Linked DNA regions of Homo sapiens: region 1 is linked to region 2. The links are contacts of gene promoters, found by promoter capture Hi-C in human tissues and cell types (Jung and others, 2019). All regions are on one chromosome and are shown on one strand. The core of a region is centred on a gene start or on the middle of the fragment in contact, and the rest is flanking DNA. Distances in the headings are between cores, read along the strand shown.

What was found. The method cuts DNA at HindIII sites, captures the fragments that hold promoters and counts their contacts. A contact is called where the count stands out against the background at its distance.
Region 1: a fragment that was not itself captured here is called in contact with the fragment with the promoter of KIAA1671 in region 2 in 2 of the 25 tissues and cell types used here (bladder and heart right ventricle).

Annotation. Positions count from the first base shown.
Region 1 is chr22:24,561,248-24,563,947 of GRCh38, forward strand. The region is part of intron 2 of SNRPD3 (small nuclear ribonucleoprotein D3 polypeptide); the gene reads left to right. Among named protein-coding and RNA genes, the nearest start is that of SNRPD3, 6.6 kb to the left of the region's middle. RefSeq lists an enhancer at 666-1,167. The HindIII fragment of the contact is 9,525 bases long and covers 1-2,700 here.
Region 2 is chr22:24,951,442-24,954,141 of GRCh38, forward strand. It overlaps KIAA1671, which reads left to right and starts at 1,275. Exons shown (of 13, transcript NM_001145206.2): 1 at 1,275-1,331. RefSeq lists a silencer at 1,092-1,341. The HindIII fragment of the contact is 5,810 bases long and covers 1-2,700 here.

The sequences.
Region 1 (2,700 bases), core at 35-2,534, 390 kb before region 2:
TTTTTTTGTAGAGACGGAGTCTTGATATGTTTTTCAGGCCAGTTTCAAACTCCTGGCCACAAGTGATCCTGCTGCCTCAGTCTCTCAAACTCCTGGAATTACAGGCATGAGCCACCACATCTGGCCTGTAAAGATTTTTTGTCTCTAAATATGATCACATTCTGAGGTGCTGGGTATTAGGACTTCAACAATGAATTTTTTTGAGGGATACAATTTAGCCTGTAACAGGATGTAGAGGCCTCACTGGGTCTATCAAAACCTAGGCACATTGAATAAGAGCCAGCAGACTGTGGCGTAGCTAAAGCTGGTGGTGGGTGAACTCTGAGCACAGTTTAGTTTGTTCAGCACATCTCAGGCTGTGAGGCTTGCCTGTCCTTCCCAGATCCAGTCATTCTGCCTTTTGGGAATGAGAACATCCTCTTAGCACTTTTCCTTGCTTGTTCAATAACATTTTCTGTTATAAAAGTGGGGTGGGACAAAATGTGGTGGCTACTCCTATAATCCCAACACTTTGAGAGGCTGAGGCAGGAGGATCACTTGAGCCCAGGGGTTCAAGACCAACCTGGGCAACATGACAAGACTTTGTCTGTAAAAAAAATAAAATAGACGGATGTGGTGGCACATGCCTGTAGTCCCAGCCATTCAGGTGGAGGCTGAGTTGGGACGATTACTTGAGCCCAGGAAGTCAAGGCTGCAGTGAGCTATGGAGTGCCACTGCACTCCAGCCTGGGCGACGGAGTGAGACCTAGTCTCACACACACACAAAAGCACACCACAACGATTCGGAAAAGATAAATAGAGGATCTCACTCTGTTGCCCAGGCTAGTCTTGCACTCCTGGACTTAAGCGATCCTCCCACCTTGGCCTCCCAAAGTATTGGAATTACAGGCCTAAGCCACACCTGCCCTGTTTTGGGGTTTTAGTATTTACTTTTTATTCTATCCTCTTTCAGAAATAGTTAGACCCTGTCTCTTCTGAAAAGCAAAAAAGTTTAAAAATTATCTGGATGTGGGGCTGGGCACTGTGGCTCACGCCTGTAATCCCAGCACTTTGGGAGGCTGAGGCGGGCAGATCACGAGGTCAGGAGATTGAGACCAGCCTGGCTAACACGGTGAAACCCTGTCTCTACTAAAAAAAATACAAAAAATTAGCCAGGTGTGGTGGCGGGCGCCTGTAGTCCCAGCTACTCGGGAGGCTGAGGCAGGAGAATGGCGTGAACCCAGGAGGCAGAGCTTGCAATGAGCCAAGATCGCGCCACTGCACTCCAGCCTGGGCGACAGAGCAAGACTCCATCTCCAAAAATAAAAAATATATTATCTGGATGTGATGGCTTATGCCTGTAGTCCCAGCTACTCCATAGGCTGAGGCAAAAAGGATCACTTGAGCCCACCCAGCAGTTCAGGCTGCATTAAGCTCTGGTCGCACCACTGCACTCCAGCCTGGGTGACAGAGCAAGACCCTATCTCTAAAATTAAAAAAATTCTATGGCAGGATAAAAGTAGATGCATAGATCATGGTGCAGGTAAGCTGGGGTAGAATGTAAAATGAAGCCAAGCAGTCAGTATCCAGAAATGTAAACCTGAATCTCTCTGTACATTGAATAAAGGTATATTCCAGTGTAAGATTAAGCAGGGAAGATCATCAGTTCCAAAATGCATAGTGTTCTTAAGTTAAAATAGCAATTGTGTGGATTTCCCTGGCACTCAGATACAGGAGACACTATTAGATGATATCCTCGACAACATCCCCATACAAAATACCCTTTTATGGTCCCTCAAGTAGTTTTAAAGTATCCTGTTATCTTAGCACTGTTTTTGACATTTGAAAATGCAAAATATGGCCAGGCACATTGGCTCATGCCTGTAATCCCAGCACTTTGGGAGGCTGGGCCAGGGGGATCACTTGATCCCAAGAGTTTGGGACCACCCTGGGCAACACAGTGAGACCCTGTCTCATATATGTGTGTGTGTGTGTGTGTGTGTGTGTGTGTGTGTGTATGTGTGTATGTATGTATATATGTATGTATATATATGTGTGTGTGTGTGTATATATATATATATTTTTTTTTTTAAAGGAAGAAGAGGAAATATGTGTATGTGAAACTCAGGATGAGGTCCCTGAAATGGTGCTTATCGGGTCAGAGGGTGTGCATCTGAGGTTAAGCTGGGAAGGCAGGGAGCTTTTGTTCTCCTTCTCATTCCGACAGCTGCAAGCCAAGCACTGGTGGCCAGTGCTGCAGGATAGGGCATCAGCTGCAGGATATGGCATGTTGGTCAAAATGCTGTTGGCATAAGTGAGAAAAATAACAATACTCCAAAATATGTCCCCAGTTTTATAAAAATGGACCCAAATTATAAATGATACAAGCAAATACAGAGAGTAATGGTCAAACCCATTTCACTACATTCAAAATGACTTAATTCTTAGAAGTTTTGGTGGGAGAATGTGGTGTAGAGCTCTGCACAAGCAGACATTGTGCTTTTGGGGCTTCAACATGACCACCCAATCACTGATGGGACTGTTTGAAATCTGTTTTGTTGGCTTTGGCATATAATAGCCATCTTTGGAAAACTGGTCTCTGTATGGAATATGGTCTTGTGTCACTGTATAAAAATGAGAACCCAAAAGAAGCTCTCACATGATTGGGTCAGAAAATTGCCCATAACTATTGCTAGGAAAGTTTTTGAAATCTCTGAATTC
Region 2 (2,700 bases), core at 25-2,524:
ATGAGGCAAGAAGTCTCCCCACCAATCCTCCTGAAGCCACACAATGTGATGTCTTTTTCTTTTTTTTTTTTTTGAGATGGAGTCTTGCTCTGTCGTCCAGGCTGGAGTGCAGTGGCGCGCTCTTGGCTCACTGCAATCTCCACCTCCCGGGTTCAAGCCATTCTCCTGCCTTAGCCTCCCGAGTAGCTGGGATCACAGGCATCCGCCACCACGCCCAGCTAATTTTTGTAATTTTTAGTAGTGACGAGGTTTCACCACGTTGGCCAGGCTGGTCTCAAACTCATGACCTCAGGTGATCCACCCGCCTCGGCCTCCCAAAATGCTGGGATTACAAGCCACCGTGCGCAGCCTGTGATGTCCTTTTCTTTCTCTTTTTTTATTGAGGTCTATCTTGCTTATAATAAAGGCACATTGATTTTAGGTCCTCCAGTTATTCATGCTCTGTACATTTCCCATAGGAGCACATGTCACAGATTCAATTTGATATACTCGTGAAATTATTTGTTTGAATATCTGTAAGCTGCACAACAGCCTGGATTTTGCCAGCTGCCCACCACTGGGTTCTCCAGCACCCAGCATGCAATAGGTGCTTAATAAAGATCTGCTGAATGAAATGAGTAACGGATAACAGAACAGGTATTTTCTCTTTCAGAGGCGACTTCCTACGATTCTCTCAACTTGTCCACAAGTTCCTGTACCCATTACCCCACAACTCACACCCACAACATAATGGCAGGAGGATGCGCACACAGTAGGCGCTCCAGCGAACTCTCAGGTGCAGTGCCCTTGCTTGGCGCGAGGAGGCGCCAGCACCGCGCACAGACCTTGCCCGCCCCCGGGCCGGCACCAGCAGCCCAGGCAAGTCAGTGGGCCCACATTTATGGAGCGCCTCCTGAAATCCTGGGTTGCATTAGGCTCTCGGGGTCGCCGGCTGGGCAGCGGGTCGGTGCCGGTGGCGGGGGATCCTGGCTGGTGACTGGGGAACATCCAGGGAACGCGGGAGGGTACCCGGAGCAAAGTTCCCAATTGGACAGAGCGGGGTCGGGCCTCGAGGGGCGGGAGCGCTTCCGGCAGGGGTGTCCAAGCGAGTCGTGACCTCTGACCCGCCGGAGAGGTCCCAGGCCCAGGCGCCACTGCGGACTCGGGTCCTGCCTGCTCTGCTCCCCTCCGCGCAGGCGCGGCCGGCGGCAGTTCCCATGGTGACGGGGGCGCGTCCCCGCTCGAGGCCCCGCCCCCAGCAGGCTAGGCTGCGCGGGGCTGCGGGCTCCCAGGGCAGGTGCCGCGGGCTGCGGGCAGGTGGCGGCGCGGCGCGGGCTGGCGGTGGCTCCACGGTAGGTTGCGCAGCGGCTGCGGGCAGTGGGGGCCGGCTGGCCGCCTCCTGTCCCCGGCCGACGAGGTAGCTGGGGGTGACGGCGGCTGGCGAGGGCCGCCAAGTTTCTGCCCGGCCGAGGCCCCGGGAGAAAAGTTGGCAAAGTTGGCCGGGGAAGAGGCGGGGAGCCGGAGGATTTCCCCAGACTCCGGGTCTGCAGGGAGGGAGGATCCCGGTTTGGGAGCCGGGGAATCCGTCTCCCGAGACTTGAGAGTGGATCCCGCGGGAAGATCCCGCACAGGGCAACCAATGGATCACGTGCCACCTGGTTGGCGACTTGGGAGTCGATCCCTGGAGGGGATCGGGCGCTGGAGGCCTGGGGTCCCACTGGATCCCCAGTCAGGGGTGACGGCGAAGGGTGATTCGAGACTGGGAGCGAGAGGATCAATCTCCTCCCATGCCAGCCTGAGCCTTGGGAATGGATTCAGAGAGATCCCGTGGCTAGGAGCTGAGGGATCGCTGGAGATCTGGGTTACTCAGCCTGGAGCTGCTAGGGTCTGGACATTTGTGCGGGTTGGAGGCCCCGGAGGTGGAAGTGGGAAGCAAGGGCGGCGAGCGAGACGGAACCCTGGTCGAGGGGAGCCCGGAGGACAGCGCGGTGGTTCGGGGGGCGTGAGAGGGGCGGCGCGCGGGGCCCCTCGGACGCGGAGGCTCCGGACACGTCCTCTCGGCCTGGCCTGCGCCCCCCCTCCGCTCGTCTTCCCAGGGCGGAGGCGCCCTGATGGGATTAAGCCTCAGTCCCCCTGTTACCAGGCAGGCCCGCGTGGTCCCCGCCCCGATGGCGGCGCGGCCCACCCGGGCTCACGGGTGGGGCCCTCGGGATGGGAAGCGGCTCGTTGACCCCCACCCGAGCCTGACCTTTTCACACCCTGCTGGCACAAACTCGCCTGGGAGTGGGGACGCCGCGCCTTAAAACCCTGCTGTTTGTCCAGTCCCGGAGCAGGCGTGTGACCTCCACCGCGCGACGCCTAGGTGGCTAGGGCTTCCTGCCTGCCGGGACTGAACTTTCTCTAGCCAGGAGCAGCCATTATCTTTTGGAAGGGAAAGGACTGTACCTGTTGCACAAAGAAAAACACTTTCTTTGCACCTTTTTTGTGACCTTGGGCAAAACACTTAACCTATCTGAATCCAGATGGGGACCCTCTGGGCAAAATGGGCTTGGCCTAGGATGGATCGGAATGAAGGGTATGAAACAGGTAGGGGCTCTATAAGTATCAGTGCCTCCCTCAGTCTATGGCCTCTCCTTTCCCGTGCCCCATCCCCTGTGCTTGCCTTACAGTATCTAAAGATTCCAGAAACCCTACTTGCTATCTTTTGAAACCGCAGGATTA